Linked DNA regions of Homo sapiens: region 2 is linked to region 1. Evidence: promoter capture Hi-C in 16 types of primary human blood cells and fetal thymus (Javierre and others, 2016). All regions are on one chromosome and are shown on one strand. Each heading gives the region's core, a stretch centred on a gene start or on the middle of the fragment in contact. The rest is flanking DNA. Distances are from core to core; before and after follow the strand shown. Region 1 holds the start of KHDRBS1 (KH RNA binding domain containing, signal transduction associated 1). Region 2 overlaps SPOCD1 (SPOC domain containing 1).

Region 1 (4,758 bases), core at 1,298-3,797:
TCAGCCTCCCAAGTAGCTGGGATTACAGGTGCATGCCACCACGTTCAGCTAACTTTTTTATGTTTTTAGTAGAGATGGGGTTTCACTGTATTAGCCAGGCTGGTCTTGAACTCCTGACCTCAGGTGATCTACCCACTTTGGCCTCCCAAAGTGCTGGGATTACAGGAGTGGGCCACCGCACTGGCCTTTTTTTTTTTTTTTTTTTTTTTTTTTTTTTTTTTTTTGAGACAAGGTCTCACTCTGTCGTCCAGGCTGAGTGCAGTGGGGCAGTCGTTGCTCACTGTAGTCTCAATTTCCCAGGCTCAAGCAGCAATCTTCCCACCTCAGTCTCTCAAGTAGCTGGGGACAACAGGTGCACGCCACCACACTCAGCTAATTTCTTTCTTTCTTTCTTTTTTTTCCCAAGACAGAGTCTCGCACTGTCCCCCAGGCTGGAGTGCAGTGCTGCAATCTCAGCTCACTGCAACCTCCGCCTCCTGGGTTCAAGCGATTCTTCTGCCTCAGCCTCCTGAGTAGCTGGGACTACAGGCACACCACCACACCCAGCTAATTTTTGTATTTTTAGTAGAGACGGGGTTTCACAATGTTGGCCAGGATGGTCTCGATCTCTTGACCTTGTGATCTGCCCGCCTCGGTTTCCCAAAGTGCTGGGATTACAAGCATGAGCCATCGCATCTGGCCTATATTTTATATTATATATATATAATTTATGTAGATACGTGTTTTGTTTTCATTTCTGTGGGTAATTTGGAAATCCTCTCCCTTAACCCCTTAAAGAAGGCCTTTAGGTTCTCTAGTTAAAGGGTTCTAAGCTTCACATCCAAAAATCAAGTTTCCAGGCACTCAGAAGACAATTTCCAAATAAACCTTTTTTTCCTTTTTTTTTTTTTTTGAGACGTAGTCTCGCTCTGTTGCCCAGGCTGGAGTGCAGTGGCGTGATCTCGGCTCACGGCAGCCTCCGCGTCCCTGGTTCAAGCAATTCTCCTGCCTCAGCCTCCCAAGTAGCTGGGATTACAGGTATGCACCACCACACCCGGCTAATTTTTATATTTTTAGTAAAGATGGGGTTTCATCATGTTGGCCAAGTTGGTCTCGAACTCCTGGCCTCAGGTGATTTGCCCACCTCGGCCTCCCAAAGTGTTGGGATCACAGGCATGAGCCACCAAGCCGGGCGGAAACTTTTTTTATTGTAGAGATGAGGTCTCATTATATTGTCCAGGCTGCTCTCGAACTCCTAGCCTCAAGTAATCCTCCCACCTAGGCCTCCCAAAGTGCTGGGATTACAGGCATAAGCCACCGCACCGGTCCCCAAAGACTTTTGAAAAGTGTGGGCTCATTAGGAGAACTAATCCAGAAGGAAAAGAGATGGGAGTGAGTGCTTTAAATGGAAGAAGAAAATAATCTGCGGAGGGAAGGGAAAGTTAGAGAGGGCACCAGGCTTTTGATGGCTTATGGGACAAGTAGGGACCTAAGGCTCCACTTGCATATAGCACACCAGGATGTGGAGAACGTCGTAGGCGACTGTCCACTATGTACCTTGCCTTTGAGAGTAGTGGCAAGGGTCTCTTTGAGCAAGTCTGGAGTGGTAGAAGAAGCCATCCTAATGATGCAACCAACGTGGATTAAGGATCTGGTCTCTACCTCACTTTTTGAAGGAAGAAACACTTAATTGGCAATAATGACGGCGAAACAAAACAAACACAATTCAGAAAAAGCAGTAAAATATGTAAAAAGAGCTAAAATGCTGCTTAAGATTTCCCGTACCAACAATGTCAACCGTTTTAGAACCGACTGGAATATATGTAATACTGGAAATATATATACTGGAAACAACTTCTTGTGTTCCCTGATGTCTGGGACCCTTTTCTTTGCTAGACTTCAGATCTCTGATCTGAACCATCCCTCTTAGTTCAAGTACTCCAATCGCCTTCAGTGTTTCCACCAAGCCGTCCTTCCTCAATTTCTCCCTCCAGGTTTCCCTTCCCCAACTTTCCCCCTGCATCAGACTCTCCCTCAGCCTTCCTTTCTCCCTGTGCAGTCTGTCTCACTCCTGTCTTCCTCCCCAGGCGGTCTCAATTCTCTCTCCCTCCCCTTTCCGTGACCCTCTCGGCAGTCTTTTACTTCCTTACTTCGGTGACCGCCCCCCACCCCACTCCCCACAGCCTCCCTCCACTGCTCAGCCGTTGGAGAGGGCGTGGCCCCGCGAGTAACAGGTCTCCCGCCCCACACTCCGCGGGCCCGCGCGCAGACAAAGACATTCCACAGCTCCCGCCCCCTCCACGCCAGAAAGGGGAGGAGACACGTGTTCCGCTAGCGCCGAGTCACGTGGAAAACGAAACGAACGGAGCCCACTGCCTCCCGCGCATGCGCATCAAGCTCTGGCCTGGCGGGAGCGGAGGGAAAGCCAGAGTCGGGAGGCGACTTCTCGGACGCCGCGGCGGTGCGCAGGCGCCGTGGCCGGACTGGGGACTTTGTTCTCCGCGGAGAAACCCAAGGGCGGTGCCGGTGGCTGGCTGCGCACGCGCGCCGCCTCATTTCCGGTGCTCTCTCTCGCTGGGTCGCTCGGGTCGGCTTCGGTCGCTACCGCTCCCGCTCTGCCACCCCCGCCAACCGCCGCTCGGGCCTCCGTCGCTGCCGCGTCGCTTTCTCGCTCCTTGGATCGCACATCCTCCCAGATGCAGCGCCGGGACGACCCCGCCGCGCGCATGAGCCGGTCTTCGGGCCGTAGCGGCTCCATGGACCCCTCCGGTGCCCACCCCTCGGTGCGTCAGACGCCGTCTCGGCAGCCGCCGCTGCCTCACCGGTCCCGGGGAGGCGGAGGGGGATCCCGCGGGGGCGCCCGGGCCTCGCCCGCCACGCAGCCGCCACCGCTGCTGCCGCCCTCGGCCACGGGTCCCGACGCGACAGTGGGCGGGCCAGCGCCGACCCCGCTGCTGCCCCCCTCGGCCACAGCCTCGGTCAAGATGGAGCCAGAGAACAAGTACCTGCCCGAACTCATGGCCGAGAAGGACTCGCTCGACCCGTCCTTCACTCACGCCATGCAGCTGCTGACGGCAGGTAAGGGGGCCTCCCGTGTCCCTCTGGGTCGCCCGGCCATCCCGGGCATGAGTGGCCCTGGCTTTGTTCCTCTCGCTTCCCGCCCCCTCGGGACCGAGGCAGTCGGGAGTTCCGGTCTCATCCTCATTTTTGGGAGCCTGGATTCCACATTCCCACCTCAGCCCGGAGTGCGTGGGAGAATTTCTAGGCTGCAGTGGAGGCCCGAAGGCGACTTTGCGATCCCCTAGCGCTAATGTCTTGATGGATAGTGCTGAGCTCCCCGCCCCTTTCCCGACTCTTCCCTCCTCCCTCCTCTTGCGGCTGCCGGGCGCGCAGATTCTTCCAGAAATGAACCTTCATTTCCCCCTTTCCCTGAAGGGAAACCCTTTTTGATCGCGGGTGGCGATGAGCGCCTCGACCGAGGTGTAGGAGGTGAAGACAGCCAGAGCGGGGAGGGACCGTGGGAGGAAGGGCCGAGGTGAGGTGGGGTGAGGCTGGAATGCCCTGTCCAGTGCCTTGCTGTCGCTGGGGCCGAGCCGGACTTAGCGGTAACCGCAGCTTAAGTTGCTGGGAGGAAGGAGCGATTTATGTGGATCGGAGCTTGAGGTTTCCGAATCAGATTTCCGACTAAGGCTGATAAAATAAGAATTGCTACTGAGCCATTTTACACCGTGTGTTCACTGTCGTTGAAGGAGTGAAGTAACCCTAGAGACAGTGAAATGGGACGATAGGGACTCCCGCGTAGTTCACATGACGTTTCCCAACGAGATGGACAGAAATTGAGAGAAGTTGCATGATGCTTGTACTGAAAGGCTTGGCCTTTTTGTTGCTGTTTTTTACATTTTTGATTCAGTAGTGAAATAGATTAGAAATGAGAGTCTTTGTTCTGTAGGTTAGCGCTCTTTTCCTCATCAGCACTGGCCAATCACCTAGTCGCTCTGATTTTTCCCTAAAGCTGTCTGACTTTCGCTTCTAGTTAAAATATTATTTTAATATTTTTTATGATACCTAAATTTTACTAAGCAAGTAAAAATTCACATCCTTCAACACTGAATGAGTAGTTGGACTCTTTGGCAAGGTTAATATAATGGACAGTTCATTATGAAAATATTATCTCCCTCCCTTTGTTCTCTGTCTCCCAACACTGTAAGGTAAGGGATCTTTACCAGTGTGGTGTTCATCTTTTATGCTTTCTTAAGATAACTGTCAAAAACTGTTGATCCTTAAAAGTTACTTTTAATTTTCAGTCTCCCCTCACTGCTTAACTAAGAGAGTGCTCTTTATTTTTAACTTGGGCTTTCTGGATGTATTTTTTTTAAACCCAACTGAAATTGGAGAAATGTGATTGAGGTTACTGTTGGTTTGGGATGTATGAATTCTTTCTAGCATGGATAAGTGTTAATATATGTTGAGCCTGGCTTTTAAGGTATTTCTGAATTATCTTGCAAGGGGATTGCAGTGAAGTCACAACCCATTGTGCGGAAGTGAGACTTTGAGAAGATAGAATAGTAGTATTTAAGCTCTGGTAAGATCACATGGAAGGGGCAGGCGCGGTGGCTCACGCCTGTAATCCCAGCACTTTGGGAGGCCGAGACGGGCTGATCGCGAGGTCAGGAGTTGGAGACCAGCCTGATCAACATGGTGAAACCCCGTCTCTACTAAAAATACAAAATTAGCTTCGCGTGGTGGCGCACGCCTGTGATCCCAGCTACTTTGGAAGCT
Region 2 (5,180 bases), core at 1,272-3,771, 220 kb before region 1:
TTGCTATGGAAATCCAAAAGCGATACCCGCTCTGCACCCCCACCCCCCTCACAGGCAGGCGCACAGACACGTGCACAAAGACGCAGGGTTCTTCACTCCGGAGCCAAGAGGATCACGGAGTGGCAGAGTGTGAACCGGAAGGACCCTCAGAAACTGCGTCCAGCCGGGGGAAGCTCAGGCCCGAAGAAAGTCACCGGGAGAGCAGTGTCGCGATCCCTGGTAGCCTGGGGCGCCTTCCACTAAAACCCAGGGCGCGAGGTGTCCCTTCCGGGTCCCGGGCGATTCCGGCTCCGGCCTAGCAACAACAAGCCCCGCCCAGCGTTGCATAGCAACGTCCCTGGAGCCTAGCAACCGTCAGTCACGCCCCCTAGCAACGTCATGCCTAATCCTCGCTCCAGGCTTCTGCCGAGAGAGAGAGGGGCAAGGGGCTCGTGGACTGGGGCCAAAAGGTGGCGGGGGTGGGGGAGGGTGTCATGTTTAGCAGGCTGCAGGATTTCGGGGCCCACCTACAGCCCTTCCACGGGCGAGCTGTTACAGAGCCGCGTTATCACCCCCATTTACAGAAGGGAAAACTGAAGCTCCCAAAGGAAATCCCTGCCCAGGGTACAGAGCTCGCTCTTGCCTGCGTGTTCCAGGAGAGCGGCTCTGGCGGCTCTCCGGAGGAAGCCCTGGACCTGGAGGGGAGGGAGTGCACACCCGTTTCCCTCCATACCAACTGCATTAGGAAAACCACCCAAACTGTGGGCTCAGAACCAAGCTGTAGGTTTGCATAGTAATTTGCGTCATTTGCATAGAGCGCGGAGGCTGCGGCGCTCCCAGGCCATTTCGAGCCGGAAAAGTTCCCGAAGGAGCCCCGCTCCCTCTCCCGGTTCAACTGTCCAGCCCCCTCTCCCTACCCCTCACCCGCACCCCACCCGCATCCTACCCCGCCCCCGCTTCCAACTCCTTGCGCTAAGTTCCCGCACCTCGCCCCACCCCCCGCTTTGACTCCGGTCCTGCCAGCCCCGACCTCCATCCCAAGGCCGAGGGCCCCCTCTGCTGTCGTCCGCGGGTAGGGCAGCCGCAGAGCTCATGGGGCAGAGAAGAAGGGCTCCCCCAACCGACCATCGCCCCACCCCTTCCAGTCCAGCAGGGGCCAGGGTGAGGCCTGTACATGGGTGGACTTTGCGAAGGGGTGAGCAAAGAGCGGGTAGGGCCCTTCTGGCCCCGGGGCGAAGGGTGGGGTTCTAGAGAGGTTCTCTCCTGGAAGCCAGGCCCCTTTCCCCACGCTGGGTTGGTTGGCCCTGGCAGCTGGTTCCCCCATCAGTCCGCAGATGCAGCTCTCTCGAGGTACACCCCACATGAAACGCTTGACAGTTGCAGTTGCTGTTAGAAGCTTGTTCTAGGCCCAAGGCAAGGCAGCACCGTCCAACCCTAATACCAGTCTCCAACCCCACCCTGAATGCCCACCACCAAGGCTAAGACCTTTGACATTTTCTAACACCAGTCTCTGGAATCTGGCAAGAGATACAGAGAGGAGTCACCCAATCTGGATCTCCTGACTTCCTCAACAGAGACCTACACACAGGCAGGCCATGAAACTCACACAGATACTCTCACATGCTTGCAGGCACACTAGTGCACAGAGATCCCTGAGAAGCACATAGACAGAGACTCGGAGGGAATATGGTGAAGGTATGTACTATCCTTCCCCATCTAGTCAAAGGAAAAAAAAATCTTAGTATTAACTGAAAAATTTAAAGTCCACTGCAACTTGCTTATCTTTTCCTCTCTAGCAATCTCTTGATGTCTGATGTCTGTGACCCTCCAAAAGGCTCTGTCCATTTCTCTCTCCACCCCCAACCTCGGTCCTACTTTCTTTCCCACCACCACCTCTTCCTCCTGGTTCAGAATACTTGCAAAATGCTTCCAGAAACCACCGTGGCAATAGCTGTGCCCTGGGGCGCAGTGATGGTTCAGGACCTCAGACCAGCAATGAGCAAGGCTGCACATTTGTGCACAAGACACTCACTGACACACCCACTCAACCCACATCTGACCAGGACCAGGGGCTCTCCTGACCAGCTAGCAGATGCAATCCCAATTTTACCAAATTCTTTATTGAACAAAAAATCAACAGCAAACATTGTCAAACAGGAAGTTCAAACAGGGCAGGTGGGTAGGGCTGACCATCCTCTCCTTGCAGTCCCACCTCTCTCTGGAACAGGCTTCAACACTAGTGAGGGCATCAAAACCCCTGTTCTGGTGGGTAAGGAGGGTCAGGCCTTTCTAGGGAAGGGACACTCAGAGCCAGCTTCATCTGTAGGCCCCAAAGAGGAGTCACGGGCTGGGCCAGGGGGCTCTGGAGCTGCAAGGGCGCTAGACAAACGCTGCAGAGGGCGGGGGATGGAGCTCTTGGTCTGGGGGCACAGTAAGGCTTGGAGCTGGTGACTCATGGTCGCCAGGGATTCGAGGTGCCGGAGCAGGGCTTGGTGGGGACAGGAGTCCCTGTGGAAGTGCTGGCCACGGCCAAAGCCATGACCAGCTGGTGCTACTGAATAGGGATGCTGGGACTGGCGCAAGCCTGGCTCTGGGGGCCACTGCCCTCGCCCAGGATGCTGCCAGTTTTCAGGCTCTGGCCAGAGCCTCCCCCTGCCTCTGGGGGGCCTCTGCCAAGCAGAGATTCCCCTTGGAGCTATACTGCCCCTGCCCTGGCTCTGCTGCCAGGCACCTCCTGGGGGAGGGGTGCCCTTCAGGGGCACATTCGGCCTCCTGTCATCTGGCTGATAGTATCTCTTCTCCACCTTACTGTTGAAGGAGACCATCTTTTGAACCTTCCCCAACCAGGGGCTGGACCCTGCTGTGTCTGGAAGCCCTTCCTTGGGGAGCAGCACAGCCAGCAACAGACTTGAGTGAGTGACCTCCAGACCTGGGGAAAGGAGAGGGGAGACAGGAAGAGCCCAAAGGCCTGCGGGGAAGAACTGTGTTCAGCTTAGCTGCAGCAGATCTGGAGCCTACATCCCAGGAAGGGCTTCTTCACAGTGAGATGGGGCCCATGAGATGCTGGGAAAAGTAAGTAGGAAGGTGGGGCTGTCTCGGAAGATTTGAGCTCTGCGGGATCAAGGCTTATCTGGCTGAGGCTGGGGTATGGATTGTTTGACCTGAAGACTCTACAGACTCAAAGTCTACCTCATTGTCTCAGGACATGGAGCCCCAAAAGGCCAAGCGCTTTGCTCAGGAGTGGGCAAAGCGCCCACTGCCAACCTCGCTGCTTTCCTGAGCCACGCCGTGGAGGGTGTCCATGCACAGAGGCCGAGCTCGGCCCCCCGTGGCTGTGGCGAAACATCCCTCCCTCCTCTCTGAGGTGACATTTACAGTCAAGTGTGTGTAGGTCCTGACTCTGTCCTGCTGCCTGGGTCAAATGTGGCTGTCCCTGGAGTTTCTCTTCAGGGGTGCCTACCTTGAGAGGCAGTGTGGTGTGGTGGTTAGGGGCCAGGTTTCTGAAGCCATGTTGTGCTTCACACAACGTGTGAACAGAGTGAAGCCCAGTTCTGCTGTTGACTGACTGTGTGACTTTGGACAAGTCATTTGCCTTCTTCCTCCCTCAGATTCTTCTTCTATGAGATGGACAGTCTAGTCTAATAGTACCATTCTCATAGGGTGATGAGACTACAAGAATTCATCTAGGTAAAGCTTTTAGAACAATGGCTGGCATGCAGTTCATGATATCCAAGCGTGAGCTATTACTGTCATTGTACTCACATTTGCCTGGCTGGGTGAGGAGTTCCCTTCTGAGATGTGCCTGCCTCTACTGGGTGACTGTGTCAACCGTGCCTGGTCTGGTCACCAAGTGAGCAGAGGCAGGGTCTGGTATGGGGACTAGGCACTCACCTGGGCCCCCCAAAGGGCGCAGCCTGGTGGGCAGGGGCTGGAAGGCAGGCAGGGGCAGCAGGACCATCCCCATGTGCTCCACAGAGGCCAGCCCGTGGCGCTGCCTATCATTGAGGTATGAGTAGAGCAGGCGGCAGTTCTGGGTGTCCCGGGCCCCATGTGGGCACAGTCTGACCACGCAGACGTCCTGCGGTGGCAGGAGGAGAGCAGCTGTAAGCGCAGTCATCCTCTGCTCCTGCCAACACCCCTGGGCTCCCTGAAACCCCTGAGAACCCCGTGAGAAAGTATGTCTCCATCTTCCAGAGGAGGAAACAGAGGGACCTGTCCAGGGTCACACAGTGAGTCTGCAGTCACTCTGGGAACTAGACCCAGATATCCAAGCCAGGCCTCTGCTCTAGAAGTGGAGAGGGAGGTGGGAGTAAGGTACTAGGAAAAGAGGGGGTGCCCAAGAGTGGGCAGGTACCTTGGCCTTGGCTGGGCAGATGCTGGCCAGAAGGTCCCAGACAATGTTGGAGGGGATGCAGCCTGCCGAGCGGATCACGGTGGGCAGAGCCTAGGGGCAGGAAGGATGGCCAGTCAGCTCCCCAGCTTCCCACCCACTCAGGGTGGACGCATTCCCAGCCACCTGGAAGGCTGCAGCCTGTGGCAAATATGGGCAGGCAGTGTTCCAGGACCCTCAGTGGCTGCCCAGAAAGCTCTAATTGCCCCATGGAGGTCTGCAGCCTGTACTGGCTAATCTACAACTTCTCCAAAGCCCCTCCCTCCCTCCTCTATCCTCTGCTCTCATCCGACACTTTAGCTGATCATTAAGTCACTCAACGATCACTCCTAAAACCCTCCTTTGGGCCCTTCTTGCTATGGGTGACAGGGAGTCCTTCACCCTGTTTGTCTCTGTAGGAATGGGACCAACATCTCATTTGCCCCCATGCCCTGCACAGGGCCAGGCACAGAAAGGGGTGCCCATGAATTGTTTTAGAATGCATGAGTGAAAGAGAGAGAGAGAGAGAGGCTGCCTGGGCTGGTCAGTGTGTAAGGGAATCCCTGGCGAGGAGGGCAGGTGCACCTGGACAAGCCGACAGCTGTGTCCCGAGACCAGCTGGGCCCTGGCCCGGAACCGCTTGATGGAGAACATGTCCAGAACACCTTCCCAGGGTGGCAGGCAGGGCAGGGCCTTTGTGGGTGCAGCAGGCACATGGAGCCCAGATGGAGGGACCCTAGAGGGAGGGACAGAAGACAGGGCCAGACAGAGCAGGCCATGAGGACTTCCCCGGCACCTCCTTTCTTTTCAGAGCAGATCCTGTGTCCCTACT

What was found. Contacts are between HindIII fragments. The CHiCAGO score rates a contact against its expected background, and 5 or more counts as called.
Region 2: a contact is called between a fragment that was not itself captured here and the fragment with the promoter of KHDRBS1 in region 1, in 3 of 17 cell types (fetal thymus, activated CD4 T cells and naive CD4 T cells). The highest score is 7.0, in fetal thymus.

Annotation. Positions count from the first base shown.
Region 1 is chr1:32,011,321-32,016,078 of GRCh38, forward strand. It overlaps KHDRBS1 (KH RNA binding domain containing, signal transduction associated 1), which reads left to right and starts at 2,548. Exons shown (of 9, transcript NM_006559.3): 1 at 2,548-3,057. The coding sequence starts at 2,676. RefSeq lists silencers at 2,757-2,966, 3,447-3,556 and an enhancer at 2,783-3,353. The HindIII fragment of the contact is 9,365 bases long and covers 811-4,758 here.
Region 2 is chr1:31,788,345-31,793,524 of GRCh38, forward strand. SPOCD1 (SPOC domain containing 1) reads right to left here. Exons shown (of 16, transcript NM_144569.7): 13 at 4,934-5,084; 14 at 4,334-4,423; 15 at 3,871-4,057; 16 at 2,078-2,947. The coding sequence ends at 2,259. Among named protein-coding and RNA genes, the nearest start is that of SPOCD1, 25 kb to the right of the region's middle. RefSeq lists an enhancer at 1-593 and silencers at 379-428, 759-1,048. The HindIII fragment of the contact is 2,297 bases long and covers 1,374-3,670 here.